Regions from separate parts of the Homo sapiens genome. Here all the other regions are linked to region 1. The links are contacts of gene promoters, found by promoter capture Hi-C in blood cells and fetal thymus (Javierre and others, 2016). All regions are on one chromosome and are shown on one strand. The core of a region is centred on a gene start or on the middle of the fragment in contact, and the rest is flanking DNA. Distances in the headings are between cores, read along the strand shown.

The links. The method cuts DNA at HindIII sites, captures the fragments that hold promoters and counts their contacts. A CHiCAGO score of 5 or more calls a contact.
Region 2: a fragment that was not itself captured here is called in contact with the fragment with the promoter of UBE2Q1-AS1 in region 1 in 4 of 17 cell types (M0 macrophages, megakaryocytes, erythroblasts and 1 more); the score reaches 7.8 in M0 macrophages.
Region 3: a fragment that was not itself captured here is called in contact with the fragment with the promoter of UBE2Q1-AS1 in region 1 in 17 of 17 cell types (M1 macrophages, M2 macrophages, M0 macrophages and 14 more); the score reaches 13.8 in M1 macrophages.
Region 4: a contact is called between a fragment that was not itself captured here and the fragment with the promoter of UBE2Q1-AS1 in region 1, in 4 of 17 cell types (M2 macrophages, M1 macrophages, M0 macrophages and 1 more). The highest score is 9.2, in M2 macrophages.
Region 5: a contact is called between a fragment that was not itself captured here and the fragment with the promoter of UBE2Q1-AS1 in region 1, in 1 of 17 cell types (M1 macrophages). The highest score is 7.0, in M1 macrophages.
Region 6: a fragment that was not itself captured here is called in contact with the fragment with the promoter of UBE2Q1-AS1 in region 1 in 4 of 17 cell types (M1 macrophages, M2 macrophages, M0 macrophages and 1 more); the score reaches 7.8 in M1 macrophages.
Region 7: a fragment that was not itself captured here is called in contact with the fragment with the promoter of UBE2Q1-AS1 in region 1 in 1 of 17 cell types (M2 macrophages); the score reaches 7.5 in M2 macrophages.

Annotation. Positions count from the first base shown.
Region 1 is chr1:154,552,126-154,554,972 of GRCh38, forward strand. It overlaps UBE2Q1-AS1 (UBE2Q1 antisense RNA 1), which reads left to right and starts at 1,484. Exons shown (of 2, transcript NR_046668.1): 1 at 1,484-1,547; 2 at 2,525-2,847. It overlaps UBE2Q1 (ubiquitin conjugating enzyme E2 Q1), which reads right to left. Exons shown (of 13, transcript NM_017582.7): 4 at 2,610-2,660; 5 at 907-1,047; 6 at 611-695; 7 at 279-339; 8 at 1-58. The HindIII fragment of the contact is 6,880 bases long and covers 1-2,847 here.
Region 2 is chr1:154,889,939-154,892,785 of GRCh38, forward strand. No RefSeq gene overlaps it. Among named protein-coding and RNA genes, the nearest start is that of KCNN3, 21 kb to the left of the region's middle. The HindIII fragment of the contact is 520 bases long and covers 1,178-1,697 here.
Region 3 is chr1:154,872,550-154,875,396 of GRCh38, forward strand. No RefSeq gene overlaps it. Among named protein-coding and RNA genes, the nearest start is that of KCNN3, 3.7 kb to the left of the region's middle. The HindIII fragment of the contact is 1,066 bases long and covers 861-1,926 here.
Region 4 is chr1:154,229,471-154,232,317 of GRCh38, forward strand. The region is part of intron 4 of UBAP2L (ubiquitin associated protein 2 like); the gene reads left to right. Among named protein-coding and RNA genes, the nearest start is that of UBAP2L, 9.9 kb to the left of the region's middle. The HindIII fragment of the contact is 3,253 bases long and covers 1-2,847 here.
Region 5 is chr1:154,851,765-154,854,611 of GRCh38, forward strand. The region is part of intron 1 of KCNN3 (potassium calcium-activated channel subfamily N member 3); the gene reads right to left. Among named protein-coding and RNA genes, the nearest start is that of KCNN3, 17 kb to the right of the region's middle. The HindIII fragment of the contact is 3,549 bases long and covers 1-2,847 here.
Region 6 is chr1:154,257,716-154,260,562 of GRCh38, forward strand. It overlaps UBAP2L (ubiquitin associated protein 2 like), which reads left to right. Exons shown (of 27, transcript NM_014847.4): 21 at 1,262-1,315; 22 at 2,233-2,314. It overlaps SNORA58B (small nucleolar RNA, H/ACA box 58B), which reads left to right and starts at 2,012; the gene lies at 2,012-2,147. The HindIII fragment of the contact is 872 bases long and covers 1,061-1,932 here.
Region 7 is chr1:154,280,516-154,283,362 of GRCh38, forward strand. No RefSeq gene overlaps it. Among named protein-coding and RNA genes, the nearest start is that of HAX1, 9.3 kb to the left of the region's middle. The HindIII fragment of the contact is 7,430 bases long and covers 1-2,847 here.

The DNA of each region.
Region 1 (2,847 bases), core at 234-2,733:
TCCTTCTTTCTCTTTGAGGATCTGGAGATCGTTGTGCAAAGCGCTGTCCTGGTCAACTCTAAGAAGCAACAAGCCTGGGCTCAGATGCCTGGTTCCACCTCAGGAGCTTCATAAGGGCTCCCCTGCCCTGGCTGGCAGCAGACCACGAAACCACTGCCCACACCCGCTCCGGGACCCTGAATGAAAATGCTGGATGGGGCTGCCCTGGAGATCCCACCACAGTAGCCCCACTCACACTCCTCCTCAACTTCCTCTCCAATCCCAGAGTCCCCACTCACTTGAGGAGTTTGACATTCCAATCATACAGACTGTCATTCACGAGTTCGACTGCATAGTTTCCTGGAAGGAGGGAAAAAACAGGTGTTAGTAGAATGGTCCAGGTGGTGAGTGGTCTCTAATGCAGACCCCTTTCCCAGACTGAGAGAAAAAGATCAACAGCTCTAGGTTCACCACAGATGGACATGCAACCAAGCCACTGGCTTGAGGAGCTCCATTCTTGGCCTGAAAAGTTCATAAGCACTCCTGGACCCCAGAACCTCTTGGGCCCCTTGCCACCATACCCTTCTTTATGGGTGACTCTTGTGCAGGCCCCTCTCTGGGGCAAACTCACCGCCTTTGAAACTCTGTGATCGGTATATATCCCTGAGCTCCTTCATCAGCCGGTCAGTGGCCTGCACCGAGCCAGACACTGCACCCTGTGAGGGACGGATGACAGGAACATTCCTTGGTCGTGTGGTTTATAAACACACGTTAGACCTTAGGGGCAGTCTGGCAGCTTGCCCAGGATTTAAGAAAGGATTAGGCACAAAAAAGGAGTCTGCTCTCCATACTGAGATGCGATGGCCTACTACTTCCCAGCCATTTCCCACCAACCCCTTCACCAGCCTCTCTCTAGAAGGCACGTACATTTAAGTAATCTTGCCTCTGGTTCTTTTTAATTTTCTCTAGGATGGCCAAGTTTTCTTTTCCAATGCCATCATCTTCAGATTTCTTGCCCTCAGCTGGCTCTTCCTCTTTCATTTCATAGTGATCTAAGTCTTCTGTGTCCTGGAGGAGGTGTGGGGTGGGAGTGAAAAGAAAAGGAAAAAAACCGACACAGGTTAGAGAATGACCATCACCTTCCCAGTCCCATTTGGCGAAGAGCCAAAAGTTAAAGTGAAGCAGTCCATCTAGCAGTCTTATAAACGCAACGTGCTTTCCATTTTTAGAACAATTTCCAGCCCCATTCCCTCCACAGTCTAAATCTTCAGCTCTCAAGCTACAGCAAGGACTTCGGAAACGAGCAGAGCTGCAGCTGAGATCGAGGCAGGGACTTAGCCCTCTTGTTTCCTGGACTGACCCTGCTCCAACTGTTCCTAAAACTCCCTTGGCAGCAGAAACTCTTCCCTAATTCCTAGCAGAAATGACTTGGGCCTGACCCTGTGACTCAAAGCTCATGTTTCACCAGGTGACTATTGCACCCGGGAGTTCTCAGGGCCCCAAGCCTAAAGGAGAAACCTGAATCATTACATCTCCTCTCCTCGCTACAAATGCAAGGCATGAATCAGGTATGCAGAGGCACGCACTGCCAGATGGAAATGAGAAAGGATGTCCAGAGAGATATATGGAAGAGGTCAAGAACAGAATTAGCCCCTTATTCATCCTGCTCTAAGTGAGCAAGCAACTAGCTCACTGAGCATAGGGAAGGAGGAGAACCTATGTAGGGTTGAGCCCCTCAGCCAGATGTTGGGGGTGTGGCCCAGAGGGCTGTCCACTATCTGGGAGGAGTAAATTTCATGTCGTCAGCCCTTTGCCAGTCTCAAGAACCTTACACGGTTATAGAACCTGGGATATTAATCTAATGCTAGGAAATAAAAGTAATCAGAGTGATCTCCCCATTTCTGGCAGGACATACCTAATTACCACACCAGCAGGTAATGTCTACTGAGTGTTTATTACATGCCAGGTTCTGTCCTAGGTGCCGCAGATACTAGCTCATTTCATTCTTACCACCATCACTCATTATTCTATCATTATCCATTTTATAGATGCGGAAGCTGAGTCTAGTGAGGTCAATTATCATGCCCAAAGTCACAGCTCTTAGCAGAGCTAAGATTCAGTCAAGTTCTGTCTAGCTCTAAAGCTCAAATTCCTAACCATGATTTTATATTCTGTATGTTTTTAGAGAATATATCAGATAGATTGTTTAGCATTTATCATGTATCATCTGAAGCATTTTATATATAACACCTCATTTAATCTCAAGACAACCATATGCAGTAGGTATTATAATCCTACTTTATAGATAAGAAAACTGTAGCTTAGTGAGATTACATAAAATTCCTCAATTAGGATAGCTAGGATGCAAACACAGGTTTGTTGGACTCCAAAGCCATTTGAAATTAACTTACCCAGTATTTGGTTTGAACCGCGCTGCACCTGTCTTCAGTGGTTGGATATGGGTGCCCTGTCTCCTCTACTACACTGGCTATTCCTCCAGGTCAGTAAATCTGTCTTTATTCCTTTGATATTTTTCTCTCTCCAGTTTTAGACTGGAGTTCTGGATATGGGTACCAATGTTGCTGACTGCAAGAGCTTCCAGCCAATGCCACCTCAGGGGGCAAGCCTACCTCAGGCATCTCCTCATCTTCATCTTCTGAAGACACGTCTTCCTGTGTGCACTGCAGCAAGGAAGGGAAAGATGGAGATCAGAGCCCCAGTGGCTTGCTAGAATGCAGCCTCCAACCTACTCCCCTGAGCCCCCAGGTCTGGAAGTTGTGCGCCTGCCTGTAATGCTGCCAGTCTCTCCACCAGCCAGATCTGAGTGGAAGCAACAGCCCAGGGAATGGCTTTGCTACCAGCCCATTA
Region 2 (2,847 bases), core at 188-2,687, 340 kb after region 1:
GCAGAAAGATAAAAATAAGCCAGGTGCTAGATAACTTTACTGAGTTGTGGAATCAACCAACACTGGAGTCTTCCAGCCTGTTTTATTATGCAACCTTCTTTTCTTTTTCTTTTTCTTTTTTTTTCAAGGCGGAGTCTCCCTCCATCCCCCAGGCTGGAGTGCAGTGGCGCGATCTTGGCTCACTGCAAGCTCTGCCTCCCGGATTCACGCCATTCTCCTGCCTCAGCCTCCTGAGTAGCTGGGACTACAGGGGCCTGCCACCATGCCCGGCTAATTTTTTGTATTTTTAGTAGAGATGGGGTTTCACCATGTTAGCCAGGATGGTCTCGATCTCCTGACCTTGTGATCCGCCCATCTCAACCTCCCAAAGTGCTGGGATTACAGGCGTGAGCCACCGCGCCCGGCCTATGCAACCTTCTTAATATGTGACTCCATATGTTGAAGCCGACTTGAATTGGTTTTCTATTGTGTACTGCCGAAATCATCATAATCAACCTAGACTACAAGAATGGAAGCCATACGATAAAACAGTCCGGGCGCAGTGTCTCATGACTATAATCCCAGCACTTTGGGAGGCCAAGGTAGGGGAAGATTCCCTGAGCCCAGGAGTTCAAGACCAGCCTGGACAACATGGTGAGACCCTATCTCTAAAAAAGAAAAAGTATAAAAACAAAAAATAATCATGAAAAGTTTTAAAAGAAAGTACAGTTAATAGGGTATTCATGATTCTCTTCTTATAACTCAGTTGCTAAAGAGGAAAGACTTACGCATGGAGAAGTTAGAGGAAAATTCAAAGAGGATGGATTAGTTATCTATGGCTCCACAACAAACTACACCAAAACTTAGCAGCTTACACCACAAACATTTATTTATTTATTTATTTATTTATTTAGAGACAGGTTCTCGCTCTGCCACCCAGGCCAGAGTACAGTGGTGCCACCATGGCTCACTGCAGCCTTGACCTCCAGGGCTCAAGCAATCCTCCAATCTCAGCCCCCCACCACCCCCAATAGCTGGGACTACAGGTGCGCATCACCATGCCTGGCTAATGTTTGTATTTGTTGTAGAGATGGTGTTTCACCATGTTGCCCAGGCTGGTCTTGAACTCCTAGGCTCAAGCAATTTGCCCACCTTGGCCCCCCAAAGTGCTGGGATTAACAAACATGTATTGCCTCAAAGCTTTTTTGGGTCAGGAATTAGGGTGCAGCATAGCTGGGTGATTCTGACTCATAGTCTCTCATGGAGTTGCAGTGAAAATGTCAGCTGGGTTCATTTTTTTAGTCTTTTTTCTCTCTGTTTCATGTTGGGTATTTCTATTTATATGTTTTCAAGTTTACCAGTATGTTCTTCCACAATGTCTATCTGCTGTTAAACCCATCCAATATACTTTTCTCAGAGCATCAGTGAGCTTCAAATAACCTAACATATGTGTAATTGGAATCCCAGGGAATAAAGGAAGCTGGGTGGGAGAGGGGAACAGAAAAAGTACTTGAAGAAATAATGGTCAAAATTATTCAAAATTTTATGAAGCTATAAACTCACAGAACCAAGAACCTCAATAAACCCTAAGCACAAGAAACATAAAACTGTACTAAGGCACAGAACAATCAGATGGCTCAAAGCCTATGATAAAGAGAAAAATTTTAAAAGCAACTAGGGACATTACATGAAGAGAAACAAAGATAAGCATGACAAAAAGCTTCCTGTCATAAATAATGCATACCGGAAAATAATGGAAGAATATCTCTAAATACTAAAAGAAAAAAACACTGCCAACTTTGAATTATATCTTTTGAATATATCTTAGATGTATATTATATCTTTGAAAATATATTTTGAGACTGAAGGTAAGATAAGACTTTTTCAGCCATGCAAAAGCTAAAATAATTTATCACCTGAGATACAACAAATGTTAAAGAAGATCCTTGAAGCAGAAAGAAAAGGATAACAGATATATAAATCTACACAAAGGAAGGAAAATCATCAACATTGGCAACTATGTGGATAAGAAAAGGATAAATTAAATGGAATTATTTAAAATATTCAATTAATTCAAAAGTATGCAGAAAAAGAGGGGGAGAGGAAAAAAGAATAGAGGGGACAAACAAAAAAACAAGGCCATAGAAGCTTTAAGCGACACAATCAGCCAAGTTGACCTAACTGACGCTTATAAAACCCTCCACCTAACAACAATAGAATACACGTTATTTACATGTGCACATGGAACATGTTTACCAAAATGGCCATATTCAGGGCCATAAAACAAGTCTCAAAGAATTTTTAAAGTTTCAGGCCATACAAAGTATGTTCTTTGAACATAATGGAATTAAATTAGAAACCAATAACCAAAAGAGCTTTACAAAATCCTCAAACATTTAGGAACACAATAACACACTTCCAAATAACCCATGGTTCAGAGAAGAAATCAAAGGGGAAAACAGGAAGTATTCTAAGTTGAATGAAAAATAAAACATAACATATTTGAGAGAAGCCACAAAAGCAGTACTTAGGAGGAACTTATAGCACCAAATACCTATATTAGAAAAGAAGAAACTTCTCAAGTAAATGACTTCAGCTGGTACCGTAAGAAATTAGGAAGAGAGCAATTAAATCTTAAGTAAACTAAAGAAAAGAAATAATAAAGATCATAGTGGAAATCAATGAGATATAAAACAGAAAAACAGAAGAAAAAATCTGTAAGCCAAAAGCTGCACTTTGAAAAGATCAATAACATCAATAAATCTCTAACCAGGCTTATCAGGAAAAAAGAAAGAAGTCAAAAATTAATCAATAATCAGGAATGAGAGAGGTAATATCCCTACCAATTCTTAAATATTAAAAGGATTA
Region 3 (2,847 bases), core at 144-2,643, 320 kb after region 1:
TTCTGTATTCTTGATTTCCCTCCCTCTCCTCCATCCGCAGACAGAGCCACCTGCTTGGTTCAAGGCTCCAGATCGCATACTTAGGTTTAATGATCCTCTAATAAATTATCATGAATATGTTGTTAGTAGCAAAAATGTGCTGTTCGTGTTGGTTTTTTAGTGTTGGATACAGTTTTCTGGGCTGTGAAAAATCAATTTTGGAGAACAGGCTCCAGGCCTGGGTATTCCTATGCTCACTCTACCCCCATGAGCTGCCTTCTGCCTCAGCTAACCTTTCTGGCCAGCCTCTTGCCTCCAGTTCTTCTGGCTGTGCCAATGGGATCCAAATGGGGCCTATCAGAGCACGTCCTGCCATCATGGATAAGGATGAAAGATAGCTTGGGTAGAGCCCTAACTATGCCAGCACCAAAGATCAGTGGTTATCTGGAAATGGGCTGGAACTTGACAGCTGATGCCACGGAGCCAGCTCATGCCCCTTGTTACAGCTATCCTGTCATGAACAGGAGGAGGAGGACAATGTCATGTTTAGAGCTTGGGCTCAAGTGTCAGACTGCCCAGGCTGGAACCGTTCTCTGCTGCAGGGATGGCTGTGTGACCACAGGCAAGATGACCTTCTGATCATCCATACACATCTCTTCCTAACTCCACAGTGATGTCACATTAGCAGCTTGAAATCAGCCATGATCAGAGTATTTACACCACAGAAATCGGCTAACACTGTAAATTAGAGCTTATGTTTTCCTGGAAGCCGCTTGCTAAATCTTTCCTGGCTGTTCAACATTTATCAGCATATTACTGCCTCCTATATCATTACATACAGGCTGTGCGCTCCACCCTCTGCCTTCCTTCTCACCAGCACAAGCTTTGCCACTCGCCCACTTTGTGACCAGTTGCTTATGTTCTCAGGCCTTCAATTTCCTTAGTCCAATGAGAGCACCGGCCAAGTACTTTGTAACTGTCAAGCACCGACAGGTTAGTGAATCAGCTGGGAGCTCTCAACCACAGGGCCTGATCATGTCAGGTTTTCCACGTTGCCCTCCAGATGCACCGCACTCAGGCGTCTTCCCGCTGTTGCTGCCTGTCCAAAGCCCCACTGTTGAAAAGCCCCCAATGCTTCCCTTGGCCCCCAGCCACAACCATGTCTTCACAGCAGCCTGTGAGTTGAGGCCATCACCCATTTTATAGATGAAAAAACTGAGGCATTAAAAAGATTTTAAAACTTGCCCAGAGTTACTAATTAGTAACTAGCCATAAAGCTGGAATCAAACCCAGGCCTGTCCAACCTTTTGACAAACCCTCGCCATATGTCCTGAAACCCAAATTTAAAGGATTCATTCTTACTGGTGTTTATTAAACATTACCATGTGACTCACACACCCAACCCTCAGGAACTTAAAGTCTCACTGTAGAGACAAGTTATACTTACATGGGGTGACAAAAAACAGCAATGCAGATCCCAAAGTGTGGGCGAGACAGTAGAGTTCATTGAAGGCAGAGGGTTGTCAAGGGTGGCTTCCTGGAGGTGGTGGGACTTAAGCCACACCTTAAGGAATGGGGAGCAACTCCTTATGCTGCCCTAAGATGACAGGCTGACAAATTAGGCCTCTTTAGTCTGCAAACGGGGGTGTGGAGGAGCTTCTTACCTCAGAGAGACAGGAAGAGCAGACAAGGAAAGTAGGGGTGGCCTTTGGCCATACTGGCTCCACATCAAGTGTACTGGCACTCGGTTTCTGCCCTCCTTTCCAGGCTCATTCCTCACCACCTTCCTCCTTAAGCCCCAGCATCACCGACCTATTGTAGCTCTCCCGTAAGTCATGCTATTTCACATCTCCATGCCCTCTGCCTGGCATGCCCTTCCCCCAGATTTCCATCTAACACATTTCTCTTTGCCTTTCAAGACATGGCTCAAAGGTCTTCTTTCTGAGAAGCTTCCCCTGAACTCCCCAAACCCAAATCAGGAGCTCCTTCTGTATTTTCAGTGCCCTGTGCTAACAGGGCCTCTACGGAGCAACACAGCTGTTATCTCCATATGTGTCCTTTGCCCATAGACCATGACCTCCTTGAGGGCAGGGATGATGTCTTCTTCACAGCTGTACTGCAGCTCTTCCGAAGAGCCGCTTACAATAGATGCTTAGTAAAGATTAATCGAACTGACTAAACTTGAAACCTGGATGAGGTCATTTGAAGGCAAGTAAGGGAAAGTCACAGTACTTTTCACAACAAATCATAAACACAATTTCCTCATCCGTAAAATAGTGAGATAAAAAAGATGATTTCTAAGATCACTCAGCTTTAAAATTCCATAATCTATTGTCTGTAGACCTTGTTATCCCCAAAAGGTAGAACTAACTGAAAATAGGTTTAAGAAAAGTAGTGGTTCATGGTTTATATGGCTGTCTTTCCCACAGGCTGTGACCTGCATAAAAGGGCTCTAAATTTTTTCAGTATCCCCAACACTGATCACGGTGCCTGGCTATGAATTACTCATTAAAGATTTATTGGTCGGACCTGGTGGCTCACGCCTGTAATCCCAGCACTTTGGGAGGCCGATCACAAGGTCAAGAGTTCAAGACCAGCCTGGCCAACATGGTGAAACCCCGTCTCTACTAAAAAAAAACATACAAAAATTAGCTGGGCGTGGTGGCGAGCGCCTGTAATCCCAGCTACTCAGGAGGCTGAGGCAGGAGAATTGCTTGAACCCAGGAGGCGGAGGTTGCAATGAGCCAAGACCATACCACTGCACTCCAGCCTAGGCAACAGAGCAAGACTCCATCACAAAAAAAAAAAAAGATTTATTAGACAGATGGATAGTAGGATGGATGGACAGATGGACGTGTGGATGGGTGG
Region 4 (2,847 bases), core at 145-2,644, 320 kb before region 1:
TTATTATTATTATTATTATTTTGAGCCAGGGTCTTACTCTGTGGCCCTGGCTGGAGTACACTGACATGCTGCAACCTCCTCGTCCTGGGCTTAGGTGATCCTCCTACTTCAGCCTCCTGAGTAGCTGGGACCACAGGCATGGGCCACCATGTCCAGCTGATTTTCCCATTTTTAGTAGAGCCAGGGTTTCTCCATGTTGCTCAGGCTGATTTCAAACTCCTGGACTCAAGCTAGCTGCCCGCCTCGTCCTCCCAAAGTGCTGGGATTATGGGCATGAGCCACCGCACCTGGCCCAGTGTATTATTTTGAAATCATTTTCATTTATTGGGTCTTATACTGGGGCTCTTTGGTTGGAATAGATATCAAAATTCATCCTTACAGATAACAACTTGTTTTTTTTCTTGAGTCAGAGTCTTGCTCTTGTTGCCCAGGCTGGAGTGCAGTGGCGTGAACCTGCTCTCTGCAGCCTCCACCTCCCAGGTTCAAGTGATCCTGTGCCTCAGCCTCCAGAGTAGCTGGGATTACAGGCATTCACCACCATACCCAGCTAATTTTTTTTTTTTGAGACGGTGTCTCTCTCTGTCTCCCAGGCCGGAGTACATCTCGGCTCACTGCAAACTCTGCCTCCTGGGTTCAAGCAATTCTCATGCCTCAGCTTCCCGAGTAGCTGGGACTACAGGCATGCACCACCATGCCTGGCTAATTTTTTGTATTTTAGTGGAGACAGTGTTTCACTATGTTGCCCAGGGTGGTCTTGAACTCCTGAGCTCAGGCAATCCTCCTGCCTCGGCCTTCCAAAATGTTAGGATTACAGGCGTGAGCCATGAAACCTGGCCTCAGATACAACAGCTTTCTGATACTACAGAGTCACTCCAGCTAAATGCAGGAGGTTTGTCAATTTCTTTGAGACAATGGGAAATAATAATGGAAAACTTTTAAAAACAATTGAATTTAAATTGGTGGGTTTTTTCTTCAAAAGTGTTATCCTGGATTAAATTTTACACTGTTGACCTTATTTGAATATTTACTATCTGGCCAATCAAGATATGCTTTTGATTTGTTTTGGGTTTACTCTAGAATAATTGTCTCCAGATTTTATGGGGGGAATCAGGTGGGGCTATTTATGTTTTTTTAAAAGTCTGAATGTTTTTTCGCAAATCACATTTTATCTTACCTTCCAGCATCTTCTGTCTAGTGCTATAAGGCTGATGTTATACAGTATCAAAAAGGAAAATAAGCTGGAGAATATAGGTTTATGTTACGAATAAACTAGCTACTAGTGAAACCAATGGGAAGCAAAGTCAGCTCCCAGGGATATTGGATGTATTTGGGTGGGTGAGATCATTTCAGAAAACTGAAGTCGCCTTTGGGAAGATAATAGTAATTCTTTCTCCTGACCCATCTTGTGCCAGCAACAGATGTGCATACAGAGGAGGGAGAAAGGTTACAGTTTCCTGAAACTTGCCAGGTTTTGAGATAGCAGCATAAATTCTAAAAGCTGTTTTGAGTCTAGCTTCCAGAGTGTTCCTGGTGTATATTTAGCTACAGGGTTGTTCTAACTTACTGTGAGCATAAAATGACCCACTAACTGTAATGTATAATAGGCTTGGGTTGGAAGAGTAGGCAGCAACAAACTACCAAGTCTTGGGTAGGTAATCTTTTTAAAACAAATGAATTAAGAGATGGGGTCTTGCCCTGTCACCCAGGCTGGAGTGCAGTAGCATGATCACTGCAGCCATGGACACCTGGGTTCAAGCAATCCTCCCACCTCAGCCTCTTTAGTAGCTGGGACAACAGGTGTGCGCCACCACACTTGGCTTTTTTTTTTTTTTCTTTTTTCTTTTTTTTGAGATGGAGTCTTGCTCTGTTGCCCAGGCTGGAGTGCAATGGTGAGATCTCGGCTCACTGCAGCCTCTGCCTCCTGGGCTCAAGCGTTTTTCCCACCTCAGCCTCCCAAGCAGCTAGGGCCACAGGTGTGTGCCACCACACCTGGCTGATTTTGGTATGTTTAGTAGAGACAGGGTTTTGCCATGTTGCCTAGGATGGTCTCTAACTCCTGGCCTCAAGTGATCCACCCTCCTTGGCCTCGGAAAGTGCTGGGATTATAGGTGTGAGCCACCATCCCCGGCCCTGTTTTCTATTTCTATGAATTTGCCTGTTTTAGAGATCTCATGTAAGTGAAATCATGTAATATTTGACCTTGTATGTCTAACTTACTTCACTTAGTGTAATGTTTCAAGGTTCGTCCATATTGTGGCATGGGTCAGAATTTCATTCCTTTTTAAGGCTAATATTCCGTTGTACATATATGTGGCATTTTGTTTACTCATCAGTGGACACTTGGAATTATCTGGAAGTTGTAGACATAATACTTGATACCCTTAAGTTCTTCAACATGCTTCCCTTAAAGGAGGATACTCTTACATTACCATAATACTATTATCAATCCTGATAAGGTTAATAATTTTGTATTATCTAATACTCAGCCCATATTCTGAAAGTGATTAGACATTAGGTAGCTGTTACTGAGCACTAGGGCCATGATTGAGTTTGATGGTAAGATAATAAAGATCTGAGGCTGTGCACAGTGGCTCACACCTGTAATCCCAGCACTTTGGGAGGCCATGGCGGGCGGATCACGAGGTCAAGTGATCAAGACCATCCTGGCCAACATGGTGAAACCCCATCTCTACTAAAAATGCAAAAATTAGCTGGGCCTGGTGGTGCCCTGTAGTCCCAGTTGCTTGGGAGGCTGAGGCAGGAGAATCACTTCAACCTGGGAGGCGGAGGTTGCAGTGAGCCGAGATCGCACCACTGCACTCCAGCATGGTGACAAAGTGAGACTAA
Region 5 (2,847 bases), core at 126-2,625, 300 kb after region 1:
GGGCTCCCTGACCCTGGCTTGACCCTCCCTGTCTGTTCCAAACACTGCAGTCAGAGTGGTCCCATTAAAATGTAAGTCAGATCTTGTCACTTCTCTACTCCAAGCCCTCCTCTTGCTCCCATCTCACCCAGGGTAAAGGCCACACTCCTCAGGACGGTCTACAAATCCCTGCAGAGCCAGACCCGCCTCCCCTGTGACCTCACAACCCCGCCCACATGATCCCTCCACTCACTGAATCAGCCTCACAGGCATCCTCTCTGCTCCCAGGCCTGCACCGTCCAGTGTGAGGACACGAGCCACGTGTGTCCACTGAGCCCCTGCAACATGACCAGTGCAACTGGATTTTAAGTCCATTTCATTTAAAATTAAATATAAAAAGACACTCCACTCTTTTATTGGAAAAATTTTAAGTACGTTTTCAACAACTTGAGTGTGTGAATCTATTCTTTTTTTTTTCTCGGACGGGGAGTCAGGGTCTTGCTCTGCTGCCCAGGCTGGAGTGCAGAGGCACACGCATGGCTCACCACAGCCTCAACAGCAAGCTATCCCCCACCTCAACCTCCCAAGTAGCTAGAACCACAGGCATATGCCACACACCCAGCTAATTTTTTTTTTTTTTTTTTTTAGAGAGATAGAGTCTCACTGTGTTACATTACCCAGGCTGGACTCGAACTCCTGGCCTTAAGCAATCCACCTGCCTCTGCCTCCCAAAGTGCTGGGATTACAGGTGTCAGCCACCATGCCCAGCAAGTCTGTTCTTTTAATTGTAAATTTTATAAACTCTAAATACAGATCAAGTATCTCCAATGAAAACTTAATGTCTGATTGAGATATGCTGTGTCAGAGACACACCAGATTTCAAAGACTTAGTACAAAAAATAAAGTGTAAAAGATCTCAATAATTTTTTGTATTGCTTGCACATTCAAATAATAATATTCTGGCTATGTTGGGTTAAATTAAAAATATTATTAACATGTATAATTCTACTTTTCTCTTTTCACTATTTTTAATATGGCTACTCAGGAATTTAAAATGACAGCGGTAGCTCCCATTTCGTGTCCACCGGACAGTGCTGTCTACAACACACCAGGCATGATCCCCCCTCAGGGCCTTCACCTTGCTATTCCTCTTCCCCCAGGTGGCTGGATCCCTCACCACTTCAGATCCTCCAATAGACATCACCTTTTTGGTAAGGCCTTCCCTGAGCACTTATTTAATTTATTTATTTATGTGTTTATTTTTAGAGACAGGGTTTCACATGTCACCCAGGCTGGAGCACAGTGGCGTAATCACAGCTCACTGCATCCTCGAATTCCTGGGCTTACGGGATCTTCCCACCCCAGCCACCCAAGTAGCTAGGACTACAGGTGCACACCAATGTACTCAGCTTTTTTTTTTTTTCTGTAAAGATGAGAGTCTTGCCATGCTGTCCTGGCTGGTCTCAAACTCCTGGCTTCAAGCAAGCCTCTTGCCTTGGCCTCCCAAAGTGCCAGGATAATAGGCGTGAGCTACCATGCCTGGCCCTAAGCACTTCTTTATTTGTTTTATTTGTGGTTTTTGTTTTCTGTTTTTGTTTTTGTTTTTGTTTGAGACCAGGTCTCACTCTATTCCCCAGGCTGGAGTGCAGTGGCACGATCACAGCTCACTACAGCTTTGACCTCCTGGGCTCAAGCGATCCTCCCACCTCAGACTCCCAAGTAGCTGGGACCACAGGCACGCACCACCATGCCCAGCTAATTTTTTGTTTTGTTTAGAAGGCGTCTCACTATATGGCCTAGGCTGGTCTCAAACTCCTGAGCTCAAGCGATCCTCCTGCCTCGGCCTCTCAAAGTGCTAGAATTACAGGCATTAGCCACTGCACCTAGCTCTGAGCATTTATTTAAAATGACCACTCTCAGCCGGGCATGGTGGCTCATGCCTGTAATCCCAGCACTTTGGGAGGGCAAGGCAGGCAGATCACTTGAGGTCAGGGGTTCAAGACCAGCCTGACCAACATGATGAAACCCAGTATCTACTAAAAATACAAAAATTAACTGGGCATGGTGGTATGTGCCTGCAATCCCAGCTACTCAGGAGGCTGAGGCAGGAGAATCACTTGAATCTGGGAGGCGGAAGTTGCAGTGAGCCGAGATCACGCCACTGCACTCCAGTCTGGGTGACAGAGTGAGACTCCGTCTCACAAAAAAAAAGCTGGGCGCGGTGGCTTATGCCTATAATCCCAGCATCTCGGGAGGCCAAGGCAGGCAGATCATGAGGTCAGGAGATCAAGACCATCCTGGCTAATATGGTGAAACCCCGTCTCTACTAAAAATACAAAAAATTAGCCAGGTGTTGTGGCAGGCACCTGTGGTCCCAGCTACTCGGGAGGCTGAGGCAGGAGGATAGCGTGAACCCGGGAGGCGGAGCTTGCAGTGAGCCGAGATTGGGCCACTGAACTCCAGCCTGGGCGACAGAGCAAGACTCCATCTCAAAAATAATAATAATAATAAATTAATTTGAAAATAAATAAAATAATATGACCACTCTCCTCTCAGAAGCCCCTGCACTCCCATCCAGAGTGGTCCTAACAATTGTGATTGTTATTGATGATGACAATGATGAAAGGAAAAGAGATGTCTTTTTCCTGTTATCTAACTCTGGCTGTAAAATTAGTTGGGGCCTTAACAGATTGGGATCTAAGACTTGTCAATGGAGTAAGAAGTTGTATCTTGGAGGGAAGAGGCTCTTCATAACACTCATCATAGCACTTATCACCATCGAACATAATATATAATTAACTTAGATAGTTTACTATCAGGCTTATCTATTAAAATGTAAATTCGTGACAGCAAAGATTTTTCTCTTTT
Region 6 (2,847 bases), core at 247-2,746, 290 kb before region 1:
GCCACATGTAATCAAACTGGTTTTTAATCTTTGCAGTTTTGGAAAAAATACTAAACTGAGGCCAACCCATCTATTGTGTATCTGCTTTGGTTTATGGTGCACACATGTATGCATGTGTGTGTGTGCGTACAATGTGTATGTATATGTGTGATGAGAATATCTGCCCTGTTTGAAACACAGCTTCTGGGCCTCAGAAGCCAAAGGCCAGAATGTTCATCTGGAATCCTTTTTGGTTTCTTAGATAATTATGACTATTATTTTATTTTTTGAGGCAGATCTTGCTCTTTTACCCAGGTTGGAGTACAGTGGAACGATCATAGCTAGCTCACTGCAGCCTTGAACTCCTGGGCTCAAGCAATCCTCTCACCTCAGACTCCCCAAGTAGCTAGGACTACAGGTGTGCATCCCCATGCCTGGCTAAGTTTTAAAAATTTTTTTAGAGACAGGGTCTTCCTATGTTGCCTAGGCTGGTCTCAAAATCCCAGGTTCAGACAGTCCTCCTGCCTCAGCCTCTCAAATAACTGGGGTTATATATAGGCCTGAGCCACTACTCCTGGCCCCAAGAATTATTTTCTCTGATTTGATTAAATCCCTAACTCTGAGTGTGTTTGCTGGTCTGGCCTGGTTAGAGGAAAGTTTCCTGACTCAATCTGGGACTTTGAGAATAAGTGGCTGACATTAGTAGCTTTTTGCCCTAGTGTATCTTCTGTGACCTTCAAGTATTTGGTACCTATTAAGATGAAGGATATATGGAAACGTTTTAGAAGATACCTGTTCCTGCCCTCATAGACAAAGTCTAGATAAATTTCATACCGATGACACATCCAAATAACACAGTTACACATTTTTAATTTGTGGTCACTACCTTAAAACCCTGACATTGGAGAAAAGTGAAGTATTCTTTCCAGAGGAGATTATTTTTAAGCCAGATTTTGAAGAGTATAAGAGACAGAGACTTGTAGAATAGAGAGTAAAACTGGTTGTTCGTGTATGTTTTGTGTCTACTCTATTGGTATCAAGAAGCCAGCCTACTAGAATCAGTAGTATTTAGCTCAAGGAAAGCTTCAAGACCTTTCATGAATCATTTAATCTCTGTGTACTTTACTGCTTTTTCCTTAAATAAAATTGAAGGAAATAATCCGTGTCCTGTTCTAACCCAGAATGAGGATGAATGTTCTGTTGAATTAGCTTGTCTCTTGGCTCCTTGTTTTGCTAACATCATGACCAGTTCCTGTTATTGCTATATGTCTGTATCTTTCAGCCACAAGTATATGGTTATGATGACTTGCAGATGCTTCAGACAAGATTTCCATTGGTGAGTATGTGGGATAGAGCTTTGGAAAAGAAAGTAGTCTTAAAATTAGTGTTGGGAGAATTATCTCCGTCACAGACATAGCTCTTTCCCATCCCAGCCCTCCATACACTCTGATTTAAGGCATATTAGAATATAGGGATTTGGGGGAGGGTTTCCAACAGAAGATAACTTTTTTTTTTGAGACAGAGTCTTTCTCTGTCGCTCAAGCTGGAGTGCAGTGGTGTGATCTTGGCTCATTGCAACCTCCGCCGCCTGGGTTAAAGCAATTGTCTGCCTCAGCCTTCCGAGTAGCTGGGATTAAAGGTGCCCACCACCACCCCCAGCTAATTTTTTTTGTATTTTTAGTAGAGGCGGGGTTTCACCATCTTGGCCAAGCTGGTCTTGAACTCCTGACCTTATGATCCACCCGCCTCTGCCTCCCTAAGTGCTGAGCTTATAGGCATGAGCCGCCGCACCCAGCCTTTTTTTTTTCTTTTTTTAAATCAGAGTTGTGGCATCTTAGTAAATACATTTTAACCTATTCTATAGCCCAGTAAAGTACTCTGGAGCACTCAGGGTGCTTTCTGTTTGTCCCAGACACTTTAAATTATCGAATGATCTGTTTTCTCAGTAGAATAAGCTTGGTATAAACTGATAGGGATGACACCTAGAGGGTTGAAAATATTGGTCCTCGTGGACTTTGATGTATTCTCAAGTGGGCATACCCGTAGACCTTGTCTGACTGTGCTCATGGCCAGGCAGGGGGGACAGTGTATGCAAGAGTAATGTGGAGTTTGTGCTAACTCTAGCCAGCTTAATTAGTGACTGGATAAATTGCACAACTCTCACATTCTTCTGTTTTTTCCTCCGTGGAAATAGTACTCATGCTGGGGAATGAGTGACATTGAATCTCTGCTCTTTTTTCCCCTCTTTTCTAGGATTACTACAGCATCCCATTTCCCACACCCACTACTCCGCTGACTGGGAGGGATGGTAGCCTGGCCAGCAACCCTTATTCTGGTAGGATTGGGATGGGACTAAATAAATAAAAAGGGAGATAGTGTTGGGATTGATGGCAGACACCTGATTGGTAGCAAGAAGGGATGTGATAAATCAGGATTGGTAGATTCAAAATCCTGCTAAAGTTGGGCATGTCATGGCTTTTCCTATTCATCCCACTTTGTGTTGTCTCCCTGTGATTTCTAGATGATATCTTAGCCAGGCATGGTAGCACACACTTGTAGTCTCAGCTACTTGGGAGGCCAAGGTGGGAGAATTGCTTGAGCCCAGGAGTTCAAGACCAGCCTGGGCAACATAGCAAGACCCCATCTCCAAAAAAAGTGATATCTTGACTTAGTTTCAAGCCATTTGCTAGCTTTTTCCAGGAAATACAGTGGTTGAGGTGGTCTTCTCTGCTCATCTCTGCCCCTTTATGCTACTACTCACAGTGGCAATCTCACTGCCTTGCCACTCCTTCTTTTACCTGACCTATCATTGTCCTCATTGACTTACCGTTTTCCCTGATCCATCGTTGTCCTTCAAGTCCAGCATGG
Region 7 (2,847 bases), core at 157-2,656, 270 kb before region 1:
TGGTAGAGACAAACGAAACAACTTGAAAGAAACAGAGACTATGCAGAGAGATTAAAAACTTTAAATGTACACAATTTTTTTTTTAGATGGAGTCTTGCTCTGTTTCCCAGGCTGGAGGGCAGTGGTACAATCTCATCTCACTGCAACCTCCACCTGTAAGTGGAGGCTCAGGCGATTCTCCTGCCTGAGCCTCCCGAGTAGCTGGGACTACAGGCTCAAGCCACCACACCCGGCAATTTGTTTTTTTTTTTTTTTGAGACAGTCTCACTCTGTTGCCCAAGCTGGAGTGTAATGGCACGATCTTGGCTCACTGCAACCTTCGCCTCCCGAGTTCAAGTCATTCTCCTGCCTCAGCTTCTCAAGTAGCTGGGATTACAGGTGCATACCACCACGCCTGGCTAATTTTTGTATTTTTAGTAGAGACGGGGTTTCACCATGTTGGCCAGGCTCTTGAATTCCTGACCTCAGATGCCCGCCTCGGCCTCCCAAAATGTTGGAATAACAGGCATGTGCTACTGCGCCCAGCCTACATTTCTGAGTTTTTAATGGAGACAGGCTTTCACCATGTTGGCCAGGCTGGTCTTGAACTCCTGACCTCAAGTAATCCACCCACCTTGGCCTCCCAAAGTGCTGGGATTACAGGCATGAGCCACTGCACCTAGCCTATTGATTCATATTTCTAAGCACTATAAAGATGTATGTACTTGGCCGGGTGCAGTGGCTCATGCCTGTAATCCCAACAGTTTGGAAGGCTGAAGGGAGAGAATGGCTTTAGCCCAGGAGTTGGAGACAGTCTGGGCAACATAGTGAGACCCGTCTCTACAAAAAATTAAAGATTAGCCAGGCAGGGTGGTGCACACTGTAGTCCCTGCTACTGGGAAGGCTGAGGTAGGAGGATCGCTTGAGTCCAGGAGTTCAAAACTGCAATGAGCTATGATTGTGCCACTGCACTCCAGCCTGGGTGACAGAGTGAGACTCTGTCTCTAAAAACAGAAATAAAACCCACAAATGTGATAGAGTTCAACTCTCCAAAGTTGAACTCTCCACAAAGTAAACAAAATAACTGATCAAAAAATAAGAGAAAAAAGGCTGGACGCAGTGACTCACGCCTATAATCCCAGCACTTTGGGAGGCCGCGGCGGGCGGATCATGAGATCAGGAGATCGAGACCATCCTGTATAACACGGCGAAACCCCATCTCTACTAAATATACAAAAAATTAGCTGGGCGTGGGGGCGAGTGCCTGTAGTCCCAGCTACTTGGGAGGCTGAAGCAGGAGAATGGCGTGAACCCAGGAGGTGGAGTTTGCAGTGAACCGAGATCACGCCACTGCACTCCAGCCTGGGAGAGAGAGTGAGACTCCATCTCAAAAAAAAAAAAAAAGAAAAAAGAAAAGAAAAGAAAGAAAAACATAAAACTAGAACGGCATAAATTATCAATGAAATAAGTCATGAAAATATTCCAGAATTGAAGAATATTACTTAATTTTTTTTGAGACAGAATCTCACTCTGTCACCCAGATTGGAGTGCAGTGGCACAATCATAGCTCATTGCAGCCTCGAATTCCTGGGCTCAAGCAATCCTCCTGCCTCAGCCTGAGTGGCTGGGACTATAGGTGTGCACCACCACACCCGACTAATTTTTGTTTTTTGTTTTTTGTTTTGTTTTGTTTTGTTTTGTTTTTGGTAGAGACGGTGGTCTTGCCATGTTGCCCTGGCTGGTCTCCAACTCCTGGGCTGAAGTTATCCTCCCACCTCGACCTCTCAAAGTGCTGGAATTACAGGAAAGAGCCACTGTGCCCGGCCTGAAGGATATTACTTTCTAACCTGAAAGGACTTGCCACATGCCAGACACCAAGGGTGAAAATAAACCCACTCTAAGGCATGCCATATGAAATTTTAGAACACTGGAGACAACAGAGTTTAAAAGATTCTAGAGGGAGAGAGAAAGAAAAATGGGGCACATGTTCTCAGGATCTCCTGAGGGCTGTGTCAGTGGATAACAAAATAACCTAAAGGATCAAGAATCATAATATTCTCAAACTTTATCAGCAACACAAAGTATAAGACAATGGAGATCCAGCAATCCAGCTACTAGGTATATATTCAAGGCAACTGAAATCAGTATGTTGAAGAGATACCTGCACTGCCATGTTCACTGCAGTACTGTTCACAATAGCTGAGAGTAGGAATCAACCCAAGTCTCCTGCAGTGGGTTAATGGATAAAGAAAATGTGGCATATATACACAATGCAGTACTATTCAGCCTTACAAAGGAATGAAGCCTGGCTCGGTAGCATGCTCATGTTGTCTCAGCTACTCAGGAGGCTGAGGCAGGAAGATTGCTTGAGCCAGGGAGTTCAAGGTCAGCCTGGGCAACATAGCGAGACGTCATCTCTAAAATAAAGACATTCTTTACAGAAAAAATAGAAAACAAAGAATGAGATCCTGTCATTTACAACATCGATGAACCTAGAGCACATTATGTTAAGTGAAGTAAGCCAGGCACAGAAAGACAAATACCACATGATCCCACTTATATATGGAATCTTAAAAAAACCTCATGCAGGTAGAGAGTAGAATGGTGGCTACCAGAGACTAGGGGGTGGTGAATGCTGGGGAGACATTGGTCAATGGATACCAAATTTCAGTTGGACAGGAGGAATAAGTTCAAGAGATCTATTGTACATCATGGTGACTACAGTTAATAACAATGTAGTTGGCTGGGCACAGTGGCTCATGCCTGTAATTCCAACACTTTGGGAGGCCAAGGCAGGAGGATCACCTGAGGTCAGGAGTTTGAAACCAGCCTGGCCAACAAGGTGAAACCCCATCTCTACAAAAAAAT